Linked DNA regions of Homo sapiens: region 2 is linked to region 1. Evidence: promoter capture Hi-C in 16 types of primary human blood cells and fetal thymus (Javierre and others, 2016). All regions are on one chromosome and are shown on one strand. Each heading gives the region's core, a stretch centred on a gene start or on the middle of the fragment in contact. The rest is flanking DNA. Distances are from core to core; before and after follow the strand shown. Region 1 holds the start of FPR3 (formyl peptide receptor 3). Region 2 overlaps SPACA6 (sperm acrosome associated 6).

Region 1 (3,416 bases), core at 615-3,114:
AATAATAAATTTCTCCATGGCTTATGTGCTTCATTGGTTTACTCTACCTTATCACTGAAAACATCCAGTGAATCAGAGAGAAAATAGAAAATAGTTGACTCTTGTTTTGTGGCTCTCCACTGTTTTTCATGGTTCTATTCCTTGGGCTTGAGAACAACATTCTGATGGTGTTTAAAAACTCAGAAAGAGCCCATCTCCTTAGATCAGTAGTCCATAGAGCATCTCCCTAGGGGCAGAAGGTTAGGGGGTTAATCTCGGCAATGGTGTGGAGTGTACAGTGTCTCTCATTTACCTTCCTTACCTCTCTACATGCTCCTAGTTACTGCTTCTCTTTGTAACTCTGAGGTATGAAATACCTCAAAGCATATTTGATTTTGTCACAGATTTCTGGCACAGGGCTCTTAAAACCCTTGGAATTCCCTGAGTGATAGGAGTATTATTTGTTATTCATAAACAGCCCCTTTTGATCATAGCTGAGTTTATGCTAAGGAGATCATGGCCTTAGGATGGGACTGGTCACCAGAAAGACCAAGGGATTAGAGGGTTGGAGCTGTCAGCCCCACCTACTGATCTCCAGGAAGGGGAGGCAGGGACTGGAGATTGAGTTCCATAAAAACTCTTGAACAATGAGATTTGATGAGCTTCCACATTGGTGAACACTCAGGAGTGCTGGGAGAGTGGCTGCCTGAAGAGAGCATGGAAGCTCCATGCACCACCCAACCCCTTCCCTGCCATATACCTGCCATATGCCTCTTTCCAATGGACTATTCCTGAGGTATATTCCTTATATAAAGCAACAGATGCAAACAAAGTGCTTTCCTGAGTTCTGTGTGCCATTCTAGCAATTTATTGGTGTCATTGGAACACCCAATTTATAGCCTGTCAGTCAGAAGTACAAGTAGCCACCTGGGACTTGCAACAGATGTCTGATCTGATCTGAGAACAGTTTGTGGGAGTGAGCCCTTTAGCTTTTCGGATCTGAGCTGAATCCAGGTAGACAGCATCATAACCGAATTTTTAATTGCAGGTGGCCCAGGTGGTGTCCCCAGAGAATTGGAGAATTTCTTGGTGTAGAGAAAAAGTATATTTGGTCAGAAGGATTGTGAAAGTAGAGAATCGAGTTTTTGTTTCACCGTGCATCTTTGTTTTTTTATTGTTTTTCCTCTCATTCTTCTCACCTTGGTAATTGTTTCTTTCATTTTCCTGAATCTCTGAAAAGAAAGGGCCTGGACTCTCAGATTTCTTGGCCTTTGATATTTGGAAGGATGAACTCCAGTCTCCCACAGAAGGCTAGAGGTGAAGGAACATTCAGACACATAAGTTTCCAAGATAAATCGTCTGAGAACATCTCCAAGGTGTCTTCTGGGAATGGTAAGAAACCCTGAGTTTGTGTCACTGGATTGATTCCAGCTCCATTGTCCCCGTGTCCTTCAACTAAGTCTCTGCTGAAGCCTGTTCTATAAAAACAGCAAGTAAGTGGTTTGGACTGACCTATTGTACTAGGTTCGACAAAGCAAACCAAATGGAGTCAGTCATACTAAAACTCCACATCACCAAACCAAAACTAATGTATCTGAACTTTTGAGAAATCAGGAGAGAGAGAAAATGGACAAATTCCTAAAACAGGCCAGTTTCAGTGGGCATGAACATGAAGTTCTGTCTGCTTTCATCTTTACAAAAAAAAAAAAAAAGCAATCTGTGGTAACTTGACTTCAATCAATCAGTTGTTCCTTATTGCTGTCTCTCTATTCCTGCTGCACAAAAAAAATGCAACATCCAGATGACCAATCAGGTTTTTGTTCTCTGTTTCTGCTTTCTTTAGCCCTCCTATCCCTGTAAAACCAACTTCCTTGGCTCTAACTATCAAAACACTCATTTTGTTTTATAGCATGACAGGCTGTCTGATTCCATCTTTATAACCAAAGCCAATTAAGATCTTAAAACCAAACATATAACTTCATCTTTTTACAAGTACTTAGAGCCTGAGTTGCTCCACAGGAATCCAGGAACTGGGCACAGGAAAAGGATCTAAGCTGGTGGTAAGTTGGGGTCTGAAAATTTTAAAGTTATTGTTGAAATGCCTGCTATATGACAGAGCCCTTCTAACTCTGGAGTAGCGTAGTCCAGTGAAGAATCCACTTCGTTAGTATGAAAACAATGTTAACTATTTCATTAACAGTGTTTAATTTGGTTACATGTTCCAGTAACATTCTTTTTTTTTTTTTTTTTTTTTTTTTTTTTGATGGAGTCTTGCGCTGTCACCCAGGCTGGAGTGCAGTGGCACAATCTCAGCCCACTGCAACCTCTGCCTCCCAGGTTCAAGCGATTCTCCTGCCTCAGCCTCCTGAGTAGCTGGGATTACAGGCACCTGCCACCACGCCTGGCTAATTTTTTGTATTTTTAGTAGAGACGGGGTTTCAATATGTTGGCCAGGCTGGTCTTCAACTCCTGACCTCGTGATCTGCCCACCTCGGCCTCCCAAAGTGCTGGGATTACAGGCGTGAGCCAATGTGACTGGCCAATTCTTTATCATATATGTAATTAAATAAAATTTATTACTAAAATAATTTCCCCAAAGGTGTTTTACTTTTTTAAAAACAGTGGCTACAAAAAAATTTTGAGTCCCATATGTAGCTAAAGTTAACACATTATATTTCTACTGGACATGTAGCATTGTAGAGATGTAGCATTGAAGGATCTTGATAGTCCTGTGGAGCTTACGTACTAGTGTGGAGGGTATTTAAGAGAGAAGATAAATGAACAAACAAATAAAGGAGAAAAGTATCTGGTGAGATAGGCTGTACCTGAGCATTCTGCTTTGCAGAGTGGGTGAGGTGGGATCTCTCTGAAATAATATTTGACCTGAAATATGAATATTCAGGATGAGCCAGGTGCAGGAAGCTCAAGACGAAGAGCACGGTAGGCAGAAGGAATAGAGAAAGCAGAAGCCCTGAGATGACAAAGAGCTGCAAGTTCAAGGAATTAGAGCCCAGTGGGTGGAGCCCAGTGTGTCTGATGAGAGTGCAGAGATGAGGTCTGAGGGATGCACAGGGCACATGTGGCAGTGGATAAGGGAACCTAGGATAAGGGAACCTAAGATAAGGGTAACTTAGAAGTCTGGAAGCCATCGGAAGGTATTGCGAATAACATCACCATCTTATTGGACCTTTTTAAAGCTCATTTGGTTTCTGTCTGGAGAATGGATCTTAGGGGAGGGGGCAGCAGGACCAGGAAAAAGCTATTTGCAAGGCTTGTGCAAATATCCAAGCCTGACAGGGCCATGGACACCGGTCGTGGAGATGGCAATGGCTCTGGCTGTGCATTCAGCATGTTCTGTAGATAGAATGAGTAAGACGTGGATGGCGTTGGGTGGTGAGGAAAAGAGAAATGAAAGGTGAGTTCTAGATCTGGAGCTT
Region 2 (3,540 bases), core at 638-3,137, 94 kb before region 1:
TGCAATCATAGCTCACTACAGCCTTGAACTCCTGGGCTCAACCATCCTCCCACTTCAGCTTCCTGAGTAGCTAAGACTACAAGCACACCATCACACCTGGCTAATTTATAAAAATTTGTTTAGAGATGGTGTCTGGATATGTTGCCCAGGCTTGTCTCGAACTCCTGGCCTCAAGTGATCCTGTCACCTCAGCCTCCCGAGTAGCTGTGATTCCAGGTGCGGTACCACCTCCCTTTTAAGGCCACCTCCTGTGACTCACATAACACATCCATTTGCATCCTATGGCTACAACTTGGTCACATGACCACAACTGCAAGGAAGGCTGGGAGATGAAGCTTTTTATCTGTGTTCTGTGGATATAGGTTATAGATATATAGGTATTTGGAGGCAGTGAACAATTCCTGTGTGTTGGTTTGCTAGGACCACTGTAACAAAGTACCGTAGACTGGGTGACTCGAACAACAGAAGTTTCTGCCTTCTAGAAGTCTGAGACCAAGGTTTTGGTGTCAGCAGGGTTAGTTTCTTCTCACGCCTCTCTCTTTGGCTTGTAGATGCCTTCCTTCATATGTCCCTGTGTGCATCTCTGTGTCCTAATTTCCTCTTCTCATAAGGACACCAATCATACTGCATTACAGCCCACCCTAATGACCTCATTTTAACTTAATCACCTCTTTAAGAACCAAGTACAGTCACATTCTGAGGTACTGGGAGTTAGGACTTCAACATACAAGTTTGGTTGCGGGGGATGGGGGGTGGGCGGCACGATTTAGCCGATAAAACCCTGCCACATTACTGATTTCCACAAATCACCACGAGATCAAGTCAGCTGTCTATTCTTATTCCACTGGAACAAGCCACAAACCCATACAATTTGGAGGCCATTGCAGTGGTCAAAACACAAGGCCAGGCATGGTGGCCCACACCTGTAATCCCAGCACTTTGGGAGGCCGAGGCAGGCGGATCACCTGAGGTTAGGAGTTTGAGACCAGCCTGGCCAACATGGTGAAACCCCATCTCTACTAAAAATATAAAAATTCGCCGAGCATGGTGGTGGGTGCCTGTAATCCTAGCTACTGGGGAGGCTGAGGCAGGAGAATCACTTGAACCTGGGAGGTGGAAGTTGCAGTGAGCCAAGATCACACCACTGTACGCCAGCCTGGGCAACAGAGCGAGACTCTATCTCAAAACAAAACAAACACCTACAAAGACAAGGAACATAAAAGAGTAAAAGATGGGTAAATATAGAAGTGAATAGAGGCTGGGGACTATGGAGAAGTGGCCGGTGTGTGCCCCATTTCAAGGGAGTGACTGCTACCCATCTCCAGCTAATTGCTGCCTTATGGAAATGCGATCTCTGTGTTACAGCTCTTCCAACTTTGTAAAAAAGAGATGCCAAACGTTTTATTTGACATTCCAAATTTTATATGTTGGCAACTGGTTCATTTTCTTTTAAACACTTTCCAGGCCAAATATAACACATCCCAGGGATGGATTTGGGTCATAGGCCACCAGCTGGGGTCTCCAGTTCAAGTTGGATCCTGGAATTCATTGTACAAATACTTACTGAGCACTTCTAAGACTGAGGGCCCTCTCCAGGATCCAGAGGACACAGTGCTACAGAAGAACATGTTTATTTACTTACGAGACAGACATAAGTGATCATCATCTATATATAAATATATGTAATTGCAGACAGATGAGAGCTAGGAATGAAATGATTGCGATGAGAGACAAAAACAGGGAACTTGGTTAGATTTGTGGTGATGGAAGGATGATTAGGAGAAGGAAAAATGTGCTAAAAACAAGCCAGCATGTGCAAAGGCCCTGAGGTGCTAGGGAATGTGGTGGTTTTCATATTAAAGGAAATGAGGCCAGGCACGGTGGCTCATGCCTGTAACCCCAGCACTTTGGGAGGCTGAGGTGGGTGGATCACTTGAGGTCAGGAGTTCGAGACCAGCCTGGCCAACATGGTGAAACCCCATCTCTACTAAAAACACAAAAATTAGCCAGGCGTGGTGGTGCACACCTGCAGTCCCTGCTACTCGGGAGGCTAGGGCAGGAGAATCACTTGAACCCAGGAGGCGGAGGTTGCGGTGAGCCGAGATCGCACCACTGCACTCCAGCCTGGGTGACAGTGAGACACTGTCTGAATAAAATAAAATAAAGGAAATGAAAGGTGGGCAGTAGGGATGGGACAGGGAGGGAGGGGGAACTAGGCCAAACCATGTAAGACCTAATAGGCCTTGGTGAGGAATTTGATCTTTATCCTCCCCTTCTCCCCCCAACAAGCTACATGCAGGTGATGTCCAGGAGGACTTCCATCCTGGAGAGATTCAGGAGGCAGAAGAAAGGAGACTTAGGGACTTGTTAGCCTTCAACTACAGAGGGCGGGTGATGAGAAGAGGAGCAGAGAATATGGTAATGAGAGGGGTGAAGAGGGGCCAGGGAAGGGCAGATACCATGACAGTACGTCCTGTGAGCTAGGGCCAGCCTAGCCCTAGCCAGGCTAGATCAGAATGCAGGACCAAGGACCAAGCCCTGGGGGAAGGGCTTTACTACACAGGCCGTCCTCCCCTCCACTCTCCAGGATCCTTTGAGGTTGCCTTCCCTGATGCTGCGGAGAAAATGAAGAAGGTCATTACACAGCTTAAAGAAGGTAAAATACACTCCATCTCTCCTTCCCCAGACACACACACACACAATTAGAAAACCCCACTTTTGGCCGGGGATGGTGGCTCACGCCTGTAATCCCAGCACTTTGGAAGGCTGAGGCGGGCAGATCACTTGAGATCAGGAGTTCAAAAGCAGTCTGACCAACATGGTGATACCCATATCTACTAAAGATACTAAAATTAGCTGGGCGTGGTAACGCATGCTTGTAATCTCATCTACTCAGGAGGCTGAGGCAGGAAAATTGCTTGAACCCTGGAGGCGGGGTTGCAGTGACCCGAGATCGGCACTCCAGCCTGGGTGACAGAGCAAGACTCCATCTCAAAACGAAACCCACTCCTGAGACCCCCCATCCACTCCCCGTACAATCCCCTGGCCCCATCTCTGAGCCTCAGACCTTGAGGGACGACTATTTCCCCGCGTGGACCATTTTTGATCTGGCCCCGCCCCTTCGATGAAAGGTTTCGTCTCCAACTGAGCCCCTTTCCGGGACTACTACTAACCTGGCCACGCCTCTTCTCTAACTGGGCCACCACCTTAGCCTTGGTCTCCTGCAAGGATCGCCCAGGATCTAGCCCCGCCTCCTCGGTGGAATACACCTGGATTGCCCATCCCCATCAGGGCCTACAGAAAACCAGTGTGTTTCCCTCTAAACCCCAAGTAGAAGGCTGGCAGCAGTCCTGGGCCTGACCTCCTAGTGGAATGCTCAGGCTTGGCCCCGGCCCCAGGTGGAACCCAGCCGGCTTGACCCCGCCCCCAGGTTATGACGAAAGCTTGGCCCCGCCCCCTCGGAGCAATGCTTCGGGCCTTGTAACATTAGCTAGGGGAGCATCGGGCAAGGGTTCTTCCCATGACTGTAAGGTAGTGATG

The links. The method cuts DNA at HindIII sites, captures the fragments that hold promoters and counts their contacts. A CHiCAGO score of 5 or more calls a contact.
Region 2: a fragment that was not itself captured here is called in contact with the fragment with the promoter of FPR3 in region 1 in 1 of 17 cell types (monocytes); the score reaches 7.9 in monocytes.

Annotation. Positions count from the first base shown.
Region 1 is chr19:51,793,293-51,796,708 of GRCh38, forward strand. FPR3 (formyl peptide receptor 3) reads left to right here and starts at 1,865. Exons shown (of 2, transcript NM_002030.5): 1 at 1,865-2,039. The HindIII fragment of the contact is 12,110 bases long and covers 1-3,416 here.
Region 2 is chr19:51,699,071-51,702,610 of GRCh38, forward strand. It overlaps SPACA6 (sperm acrosome associated 6), which reads left to right. Exons shown (of 9, transcript NM_001316972.2): 3 at 2,588-2,656. Among named protein-coding and RNA genes, the nearest start is that of SPACA6-AS1, 7.4 kb to the left of the region's middle. The HindIII fragment of the contact is 3,108 bases long and covers 334-3,441 here.